Regions from separate parts of the Homo sapiens genome. Here region 1 is linked to region 2. Evidence: promoter capture Hi-C in human tissues and cell types (Jung and others, 2019). All regions are on one chromosome and are shown on one strand. The core of a region is centred on a gene start or on the middle of the fragment in contact, and the rest is flanking DNA. Distances in the headings are between cores, read along the strand shown.

Region 1 (5,562 bases), core at 1,977-4,476, 1.0 Mb after region 2:
TTAAAAGGTTGTGGAACTACCAATTCTGACTGATGCGCGGTTTCCGAAGTGGCCCGTGATGTAATCAATTTGAAGTCCGAGAAGCGTTACAGTTAAGTCTTGTCACTGACCTTGTTCCTTTAAATTTAAACCCTTCGTTGGCCGGGCGCGGTGGCTCACGCCTGTAATCCCAGCACTTTGGGAGGCCGAGGCGGGCGGATCACGAGGTCAGGAGATCGAGACCATCCCGGCTAAAACGGTGAAACCCTGTCTCTACTAAAAATACAAAAAAATTAGCCGGGCGTAGTGGCGGACGCCTGTAGTCCCAGCTACTTGGGAGGCTGAGGCAGGAGAATGGCGTGAACCCGGGAGGCGGAGCTTGCAGTGAACCGAGATCCCGCCACTGCACTCCAGCCTGGGTGACAGAGCGAGACTCCGTCTCAAAAAAAAAAAAAAAAAAAAAAAAAAAAAAAAAAAAAACTCTTCGTTGACCCCAGAGGAGCTACAGTTCGTAAATTATCTATTCTGAACAATAAGCCTGCGTGTGTATAAGATACCCAATTCTGACGGATCCACATTATTTTGTGCTTACCTCATTTTTATTCCGTTAAAAGGAAAATGTAAAGATTTTGCATTCCTTTTTACTGACTAAAAAATTACATCATTTTCGATAATAATTATGACTCTTAAACATAGTGATAGTTTTAAAGTTTGCTCTTCCTAACGATTGGAATGCCTGGGATTAGGCAGATGATTTTCTTTTTCCCCCATACCCCTCTATTATTTAGGTGATTGAGTTTAAACCCGTTTCTTTTACTGTCTTCCTTTGTTTAGTGTTTTGGGCCTCAGTATACTTAAAGAGTAATACTATTTTTCTTGGGTTGCAGGTTTTTTTGTATTTTTTCGAGACGGAGTTTTGCTCTTGTCGCCCAGGCTGGAGTGCGATGGCGCGATCTTGGCTCACTGCAACCTCCGCCTCCCGGGTTCAAGCGATTCTCCTGCCTCAGACTCCCGAGTAGCTGGGATTACAGGCGCCCACCACCACACCCGGCTAATTTTTTTATATTTTTGGTAGAGACGGGGTTTCACCACGTCGGCCAGGCTGGTCTCGAACTCCTGACCTCAGATGATCCACCCGCCTCGGCCTCCCAAAGTGCTGGGATTACAGGAGTGAGCCACCGCGCCCGGCCGGGTTCTAGTATTTTAAAAAGTGAATTTAAACATTTATTTATGCCGTGCCTTGTTCAATAAAAAGACAGTCCCCTAGAGAAGTGACCTAGTATTCAATCCAGTGCTTACCTCCTTCGCAGTGGAAAAAGATTTGTCTATGTTTCGAGCCGTTATTAGAGTTTGCAACAAAATGTAAATTATAAGAAACCAAAGTGGCTACCTCGTAGAGCCACTGCTGGAATAGAAGGCTGTTTTGCAGTTAACGTTTATGTGTACACATAGATTAGTACTAAATTAAAGCTTAGAAAATTTCAGAGCAATTTTAATACTCAGTTTTTGGTAGGTTTTTTTCCTGGATACCTGTATTATGCTACTATAAAATATCCTCAGGGAAATAAAAGTTTTCCATGGCCTCAATGACCACCTATCATTCCTATTTGTTTAGTGTTAAGATGGTTTTTGTTGTTGCTCTGTAGTATATTTTACAGATGAAAATGGTTGATGATGTAAGTTTAAGTTAGCCTATGTCACAGGGAGGTTTCTCTGTTGTCCAGCTTTGTGATGTTAAGCATGAAGTTAAAGTTAGATAAACCATTGCCTGAAAACTGCCTAGGCTAAGCACTAGATTTTCCATGAGAAGGTTGTTTTCGATTCTAGTCTTGTTCTCTGCAAAAGTAAATGGGATTTGCCACTAGTTAAGGAATTCTGTCTCTGGCAAAAGTGTCGTGCAACTGAGAGAAGTAATAGCGGTGCTTAAAATTTTCGAGATCACTTCTGTTTACCAAGTGTAAGCTGTACAAACACTCAGCAAGTAATAAATGAGTCTGAAATAGTCCTCAAGGATAACGATGAAAAAAAAAAGTGTCCAGAATTCATTGTGAAAAATCAGAATCATCCTTAATGATACAGCATTATTTATTAGTAGTAAACAGTAAAGATACGGAGATGCAGTATCATTTTAAGCAAGTCAGCTAATGTTGCTGGATCTCATCTGTGAAACGAGAAAGTTGAACTCTATTCTAAGGGGTGAAAACCTTTCAGCATAAAAATTTTATGGTTCCAGAAGTCACCCAGACTGGAGAAATAAGTACATATACAATATGCTGGCATGAGAGCCTCCCTGGTAGTTAATTTCTTACTGTTCTTTTTGTGCCATTGTTAGAGGAATAACACGTAATTTATGTCTTTCATCTCATAATTGAACTGCAAAACCTTTCTGTTTTTAATTTATCATTTTATTCCCTAAGTCTAGCATTGGTTTTGGCACATTTTTGACCCTTAGTAAATACTTGTTGAAGTAACTCGACCTCTCACAACTTCATTTATTAAAGTACAATACACCCATTTATTGTACTTGATACTTGTTTAAAATTTGTTAAAATACAATACCCCCATTTATTGTACTTGATATTTGGTATTCATTTTCTGGACTAACTTTCCTAAAGGAGGAAGTTCTCTAATGTGATTCCTCCTGCTGAAGACTATCGATTCCCTATTTATTCAATCCAGATTCCGTTTGATGTTATACGTGAAAAGTCCATAAACTGTTTCTGTAAAGGGCCAGACGGTAAATATTTTTGGCTTTGTGGGCCATGTGCAGTCTCTGTCACATTCTTTCCCAGGCTGGAGGGGCAGTGGCGCAATCTTAGCTCACTTCAACGTCTGCCTCATGGGTTCAAGCCATTCTCCTGTCTCAACCTCCTGAGTTGCTGGGATTACAGGCACGCCCCACCACTCTTGGCTAATTTTTGTGTTTTTAGTAGAAGCAGGGTTTTACCATGTTGGCTAGGCTGGTCTCAAACTCCTGACCTCAGGTTATCCGCCTGCCTCAACCTCCCAAAGTGCTAGGATTACAGGCATGAGCCACAACACTGGCGTTTTAAGTGCCTTTAGTTTTAACAGTTCAGTCTTTACAGTGCTATTTACTGAAGTTATTTATTAAATATGCCTAAAATAGTTTTAAAAAACGTAAAAAACCATTCCTAGCTCAAGGCCATACAGAAACAGAATGAGGACCATAGCTTGCCAACCCTTCCTAAGTAATCAATTCCCCAGGTGTATCAATTATTTTATTTTCATGTTATCTTCTCTGGTCAGATAGCCGAGCATTGTCTACCTTCTGCATTAGTTGAAACTTGTAAAATTTATATTGTAATAATTACTTATAAAATGCTTTAAAGCAGAAACAACTTAATGTTTTCATAGCCCAGAGCACATGTGAGGAGAGGCAGACCATATTTTGCAGCAGCACTGTGCCAAGGGGCTGTTTTCATTAAAGAGGGTTAATGACATTAAGATGAGGTTCTCACTTAGGTAAGTTAATTTTCTGTTTATTATTTTATAATATTCTTAGGGCATTGTTTTAAGATTTTATCGTCTTGAGTATCTTTAAGCTTTAACAACTCATTTTTGATGTTTGACATGTATGCTAATTTAAAAGTATTGGTAAAGTCAGCTAAATGCATTCACACATCTAAAAAGGACTATTTTCTCTGCTTGAATGCTTATTAGAACTACTTGGAGCCCTTATTCCTCCCCCACCCCACCCCATGTTTTAAAAGTTATACAAATCATCGTTAGAAAATTAAAGATACATCAGTCTAAATATGTAGGTCTTGCTTTAGTATCAGGTTCGTCATTTCAAGCCATTCAGCCTTATTAGTGTACAAAGCACATTTAGTTACTTGGAAAGCAGGCATTCTGATTTATTGATTGTGGGGGGCTATCTTCCCTCCCTTTGTCCCTCTTTTAAGAAATTGAAAACATTTAAAATGTAATTAAGAACTTTAATCATTTGTTTTTAAACTTTTAGGCTAGTGATACAGAGCGAGATGGACTAGCCCCAGAAAAGACATCACCAGATAGAGATAAGAAAAAAGAGCAGTCAGAAGTATCTGTTTCTCCTAGAGCTTCAAAACATCATTATTCAAGATCACGATCAAGGTCAAGAGAAAGAAAACGAAAGTCAGGTATGAATTCTTAAAGGTGGTTACAACTCTCAGCATTTGTATAAGATATGTAGACCTGTTGTATAAGAAGACACATACATTTAGTTTGTTGGCTGGGCATGGTGGCTCAAGCCTGTAATGCCAGCACTTTGGGAGGCCAAGGCAGGCAGATCACCTGAGCCAGGACCAAAAATACAAAAATTGACACACTCTCAGCCCAATGCAACCTCCATCTGCTGGGTTCAGGCAGTTCTTCTGCCTCAGCCTCCTGAGTAGCTGGGATTATAGGCGTGCGCCACCACGCCTAGCTTATTTTTGTATTTTTAGTAGAGACTGGGTTTCACCATGTTGGAACATATCAAATATAATTCAACCTGTTTATTTTCTTTAGTTTTTATTTTTCTTAATGGCTTACCTCTCTCTATTAAACCCCCTTATGAATTTGCTGTAGACTAGGAAACTAGATGGGCTGGTCAGAATATATGTAAAATACTGAAAGTCTATGACCGTTTAAAAGATGTATCTAGGCTGCTTTATGTCCTGGTTTGCTCAGATTGCTTGATTTGTTTCACATGTGTGTTGTATTAATGTAGAATAATCCCACCCGTGCCATGAAAAAATTAGTCATTGGAAGAAGACTAATGGGAGTCATTTTTCTCCAGCATTAAGAGTTTTTTAAGATGAAATGTTTCTCCAACTTTGTTTATGGTGATTATTTTTTTTGTGTATTCACAGATAATGAAGGAAGAAAACACAGGAGCCGGAGCAGAAGCAAAGAGGTAATTAACACTTTGTAGTGAATAGGTACTTTAAAATACTTATAAAGTGTCTGGTAGAAAGATTTGTATGAATATAAGACGTTGTCAAGGTAAGTACAAAACTTGAAATTTAAAAGGTTTATTGGGTTATAAAATAAGCATGATTTTGATTCATCATTTTTGAAGAAGATGTTTATGTGAAAAGTACCTTCAAAACTTTAATTTTATTATATTGTGAAAATATTCACAATAAAAATTTCATATGAAGAATATGATTGGTTTTTTTAGGCCTGTCACACAGAGCTTCCATTAATCTGAGGTCCCGAGTCTCCTGGTGCCTGACAGTTGCTCAGGATTTTTAAACAGCAATCATCTTTACATAGCAATACCCTAGATATCTGTGCGCTGCTTTTTCCTTATGAACGATAACAGGAGTTCTCTTTTCTTTTGCAAACTAGTTCAGTTTCCCTAATAGTAGTATTGAATTTTGAAATAAAGGTTTGAGTGAGGGACAGCTGAAAAGGTGGCGGTGACACCAAAACTTGAGGAAAAAGAAAGGCAGCAGCTGTATTGCAAAGGAGTTACTTGTTCACCCACCTGAGAAGACAAAGAATGAGCCAATAAGGAAGTGTAGAAGTAGTAGCCAGAAAGGGAGAAGAGTCTTGTGGGGGCTGGGTAAGGGACTCCTAAAACAAGAGTGGGCAGGG
Region 2 (5,769 bases), core at 996-3,495:
GGCTAATTTTTTTTTTTTTTTGTATTTTTAGTAGAGATGAGGTTTCACCATGTTGGCCAGGCTGATCTTGAACTCCTGACCTCAACTGATCTGCCCCCCTTGGCCTCCCAAAGTGCTGGGATTACAGGCATAAGTCACTGCAACCAGACTTTTTTTTAAATAGAGACGGGGTTTTGCCATGCTGCCCAGGCTGGTCTCGAAATCTTGGGCTCAAGTGATCCTCCAGCCCTGGCCTCCCAAAGTGCTAGGATTACAAGCATGAGCCACTGTGGCCAGGAGTATTTATTTTTATTTTTTATTTTTCTGAGACAGAGTTTCGCTCTGTCGCCCAGTTTGGAGCATAGTGGTGTGATCTCAACTCACTGCAACCTCTGCCTCCCAGGCTCAAGGGATCTTCCCACCTCAGCCTCCCAAATACCTGGGACTACAGGCTCTCACCACCACGTCTGGCTAATTTTTTTATTTTACTTTTTTTTTTTTCTTTTTTTTTTTTGAGACGGAGTTTCGCTCTTGTTGCCCAAGCTGGAGTGCAGTGGCACGATCTTGGCTCACTGCAACCTCTGCCTCCCAGGCTCAAATGATTCTCGCGCCTCAGCCTCTTGAGTAGCTGGGATTACAGGCACATGCCACCATGTCTGGCTAATTTTTGTATTTTTAGTAGAGGCGTGGTTTCACCATGTTGGCCAGGCTGGTCTCGAACTCCTGAGCTCTAGAAATTTTCCCACCTCGGCCTCCCAAAGTGCTGGGATTACAGGCGTGAGCCACCCCGCCTGGCCTTAATTTTTTTTTTTTTACTATTTATTTATTTATTTATTGTATTATATTATTATTTTGAGATGGAGTCTTGCTCTGTCACCCAGCCTGCAGTGCAGTGGCGCGATTTCGGCTTGCTGCAACCTCCGCCTCCCGGGTTTAAGCAACTCTCTGCCTCAGCCTCCTGAGTAGCTGGGATTACAGGCATGCGCCACCATGCCCGGCTAATTTTTGTATTTTTAGTAGAGACGGGGTTTCACCACCTTGGCTAGGCTGGTCTTGAACTCCTGACCTCGTCCACCTCAGTCTCCCAAAGTGCTGGGATTACAGGCGTGAGCCACCGCGCCCGGCCAACTTTTAGATTTTTAATCAATACGTGCCACGTTGGGGTGCGCTTTATGGCTACAAGGGCATTAAGATTTCTTCCCTCAAGGAGCCAAGATCTGACGGTGGAAACCTACCTGCAACCACACGGTGAAAACTCAGGATGCTAAGAGCAATCCTGATGGGGCAAGCAGGGGACTGTGAGTTTGCAAGGGGGTCCTTAACTCCTGCGTGGGGGGCGGGGAGGGTGGATGGGGTTCTGGGTTCAGGAAACGTTCTCCCGGGAGTGGGAGGGGGTCTGATGGACAAGTGGATTTGGCCAGCCCAAATGGACAGGGGGCCTTGGGACAAGAGAACTCGTGGTGCTGGAATGCCAAGCGGGCTTCGCTCTACTGTGAAGTGGCGTTCATGTCACAAGGAGCCAGTGATGGATGTGGCTCGGGGAGGCGCGCCCTGGGGCTCCGGGGATCCAGCATTCCTCGACACGTCGGCCCCTCTCCGGGCGCCTCTGCAAGTCCGCCTGGTGGCCGGGTCTGCGCGGAGTGTCTGCGGGCCGGGGGGGGTCCCCGTTCTCTTCCTGGGATGAGCCCCAGCCCGGGGACCTCCTCGTGACCCCTCCATCCCTCTCCAAGGCCGGGGCCGCTACCCGGAGCAGCGAATCGTCCCGCGAGACCAGCGCCCCCGGCCCCCTCTCCCGGGGCGGCCTGGACCCCTCCCGGCGGCCGGGTGGTGGGAGGAGTCAGCGCCGGGCGGGGGAGGGGCGGCCGGGGCACGGGTGAGGGGCGCCGCGGGTCCGGCGGCTGGAGAGGGGGGCCCGGAGTGCAGGCCGCGGAGTCGGCGCTTGGGGGGGTACCCCGGGGCGCCCCCGGGCGGCGGAAAGCGGGCGCGCCCCTGGCCAGGCCGGGATTGGGGCGGGGCGCGCGGCCTCCCTGTGGGGAAGCGATCACCCGGCCTCGCAGCCGCCGCCGCCAAAGTTTCCCGGAGGAGCCGCGGGCCGCCCTTCCTCTCCGGCCCCGCGCTCTGCCGCCCCTCAGGCCCGCACCGCCCCGAGGCGCCCGGCCCGGCTCCATTGAGCGCAACTCGGATCCCAACTTGGGAGGCGCCGCGGGCCTGCGCACGCGCGCGCCCTCCCCGCTGCCGCCGCCGCCGCCGCCGCCGCCGCCGCCCACTCGGGAGCAGCTCCGGGCCGAGCCGGGCGCCCAGACCCCGGGCCCGCACACCCCGCGCCGCCGCCCGTGCCCGCGCCCGCGCCCGCCGCCCGCTGCCCGCTGCGCCCTCGCCCCAGCGCCCGCTGAGCGCGCCCGCCCGCGGCCCAGGCTGGGCCCGGCCGGCCCGGCCCTCGACAGCGGCAAGTTTGGGAGTTGCACGAGTTTGCGGGGCGGGGGACAGGCCAGGAGGGTGGCCATGGAGGAGGAGCGGGGGTCGGCGCTGGCGGCCGAGTCGGCGCTGGAGAAGAACGTGGCCGAGCTGACCGTCATGGACGTGTACGACATCGCGTCGCTTGTGGGCCACGAGTTCGAGCGGGTCATTGACCAGCACGGCTGCGAGGCCATCGCGCGCCTCATGCCCAAGGTCGTGCGCGTCCTGGAGATCCTGGAGGTGCTGGTCAGCCGCCACCACGTCGCGCCCGAGCTGGACGAGCTGCGCCTGGAGCTGGACCGCCTGCGCCTGGAGAGGATGGACCGCATCGAGAAGGAGCGCAAGCACCAGAAGGTGGGCGGCGGCCTCGGTCTGTCCGTCCGGGCAGTGGGACCGCGGGGACCCAAGGGCTCTTCCGCATTGGGCAGCTGTGGGTGCGCACGTGTGTGTGTTCAGGGACCGGACCAGAGGAGACCCGACGTGGGGAGGGAGGGAGGCCCTGGCCTTCTTTTGCCCGACCAGGGGTGGCTGGCAGATACCACCCGAGAGATTAAGAGCTGTTCTCTGGAGTTCCAATCCCACCTTTACCGTTTAATAGCTGTGTGACTTTAGGTAAGTTACTTAACCTCTCTGTGCTTTATTTCCTCACCTGTCAAATGGTAATCATAATAGGACCCACCTTAGAAGAATTAAATGGGACCATATAAGCTAAGTGCTTAGACATATTATTCTCTTCCAGACATGAAATAAGCCTCTTGGCCTCCCGAGTTACCAAGAAGATGTGACATCAGGCCCAGGACCCTTTCTTCATCCCCCCCCCCCCCAGTCTCCCCAGAGCAAAGGGAATGTGACCTCCAGCCACTGAGCTTCGTGACCCCTAGTCTTCGGGTTCATATTTGCAACTTTCTTCCCGGGACTCCCCTAGCTTATGAACCTGTGGTAGCCCGTGTTCTCTCCTCTGATTTTATCCTTAATCCTCACAGGACTCTATAGAGACTATCTTCATTTTACAGATAAAGAAACCGAGGGTCACAGTGGGAGGAGCAATTTGTCCCAAATTAGTGGTGAGAGAGTCCCAGCCCCCGTGTCTCCTCCCCACCCTGTTTGAATTGGGGGAAAGGGATGATTTGGGGTGGCTTTAAGGCTAAGCCTCTGCCCTGTGATCAGGAGTCTCTCTGAATCAGGGCCTCCCCACTGGGCCTGGAGTTCAGACGAGGTTTCTGGAGAAAAGGAAGTGAAAGACATGTGGTTTCCTGCCCTAACCTCAGCCAGGGATGCTCTTGGCAGCCCCTTCAGACTGAGAATGGGAGGAAACACCTTTCCTTGAGGGATCAGGGTGCCTGAGCAGTCTCCAGCTTGCTGTTCAGCCTCAGGAAATACAGATGGCCTCTCTGAACCTCAGGGGCAGGCCATCCCTTATTGTGTACTTTGATGGATCTCTGTGTTTTGGAGTAAAATAGCCAAAGCTGGGTCTGAACCCTTTACCTGAGGGCAGACCCACAGGTAGGTAACAGCACCATTGCCATGTTTGACTGTGCTCGTCCTCATGGGTCCCTATGCCCTAGGGGCAGGAAGGAAACTCAGGCTCCCAAGAGTTGAGCAGCATTTCCGAGGTCACTCTGGGAGCCTGAAAATGCTTTGACCTGTAATTAATTTCAAGACTCCTAGAAGCTAGGACTTTGGAGCTAGACAGCCTGGTTTCAAACCCTACCACTTGCAGGCTGTGTGATCTTGGGCAAATCACCCAGCATCTCTGTGCTTCAGTTTCCTCAGTTCTAAAATGGGATAGTAATAGTACCCCCATTAGAATGTGATGAGGTTTAAAGAGTTAATATAAATACATATAAAGTGTTCAGGACAGAGCCTGCCCATAGCAAGGGCTTTGCAAGTCTTAAAATTCTTTTTAGGCCTGGAGAGACATTCATTGAGGTGCTCACAGGCTCATATTAGGAAACCGTCCCCACCCCAAGCACCTCTACTCCTACCCTAGAGGCCTCCATCTCTCATAGAGGGTCAAGGAGGCAAGGGACCTTGGAAATTCTCTCGTGTGGCGCCTCTTATTAACAGGGACCAAGGGGCTTTGACCAGATCACACAGAAGTCCTGGCACCTATACTGTCCCCCAACTGGGGCTCTTTAGTTCTGTTGCGGGGGAGCTGGGAGAAATCCTTGGAAGCCATCGGAGGCCACCAGGTCTGAAGTCACATGGAATTGTCAGCAGCTGCACTTGTTGCCTCTGGAAAGTGTTCAGCTGGGAAGTGAACACCGTGCGCTCAGGGCCAGGGCTTGTTGACTTACATTGAGGATGACCTCTCTAAATCAAGGATGCAATTCTTTTCCCACCCCAGCCCCAGACCCGTTTACTTCACATTCTTGGGATGGAGAGAGACTTGTATGATTTTTTTTTTTTTTTCCTGCAGAGTCTCAAAGGCTCTTCAAGGTGATATTTCCACAAAAATGTTTTTGGCATGTCCTGGTTTAGTCTGTCCACCTCCATTCCTCTTCCCTTTCCCCTCTTCTTCCCTACCCCTTCTTCCTTGTCTCTCTCGCTTTCAGCAATTATGGCTCCAGTAAAGGACATACACTTTCTTCCCCCTACTCCTCCTCTCAGTAGACCCACTCACTCACTTCCACTCATCACTCAGATGCAGGCCACAGTTGTGTCATGTTCTGTCTCATTACTCAGTCTGCAACTCTGATGACAGGCCATAGCGAGCACAGTGCCCTTCTTGGTACCATGGCTCTGCAGAGAAAAGCAAAGTCTCATGTCAGGCAGCAGGCGGGTAACAGGGAAGAAAGGGAAAACACAAATAAATTCTAGAAAGCAATGGCTGGGCTGATACACTCGCGTGTAACATACCAGACTATGCTATTCATTCACTCATTCAGCGAATATATTTACTGAGAACCTACTGTGTGCCATGCATTGTTCTGGGCACTGGGAAGACAGTAATGACCATGACAGATGAGGCCTTGGCCCTGATGAGCCTGACTTTTTAGTGTAGTGCTATACCATAGAAATATTATGCAGCTTTGCCATGTTAATAAAAAACAGTGAAGTTGGCTGGGCGCGGTGGCTCACACCTGTAATCCCAGCACTTTTGGGGGGCCAAGGCGGGTGGATCACTTGAGGTCAGGAATTCAAGACCAGCTTGGCCAATATGGCAAAACCCCATTTCTACTAAAAATACAAAAATTAGCCGGGCATGGTGGCGAGTGCCTATAATCCCAGCTATTCAGGAAGCTGAGGCAGGAGAATCGCTTGAACCCGGGAGGCAGAGATTGCAGCGAGTCGAAATCACACCATTGCACTCCAGCCTGGGTGACAGAGTGA

What was found. Contacts are between HindIII fragments. The study calls those that stand out against the background at their distance.
Region 1: a fragment that was not itself captured here is called in contact with the fragment with the promoter of RILPL1 in region 2 in 1 of the 25 tissues and cell types used here (spleen).

Annotation. Positions count from the first base shown.
Region 1 is chr12:122,520,699-122,526,260 of GRCh38, reverse strand. RSRC2 (arginine and serine rich coiled-coil 2) reads left to right here. Exons shown (of 10, transcript NM_023012.6): 2 at 3,962-4,118; 3 at 4,833-4,876. Among named protein-coding and RNA genes, the nearest start is that of RSRC2, 3.5 kb to the left of the region's middle. The HindIII fragment of the contact is 5,664 bases long and covers 395-5,562 here.
Region 2 is chr12:123,530,195-123,535,963 of GRCh38, reverse strand. RILPL1 (Rab interacting lysosomal protein like 1) reads left to right here and starts at 2,245. Exons shown (of 7, transcript NM_178314.5): 1 at 2,245-2,790. The coding sequence starts at 2,482. RefSeq lists silencers at 1,317-1,502, 1,522-2,211 and an enhancer at 2,427-3,244. The HindIII fragment of the contact is 25,082 bases long and covers 1-5,769 here.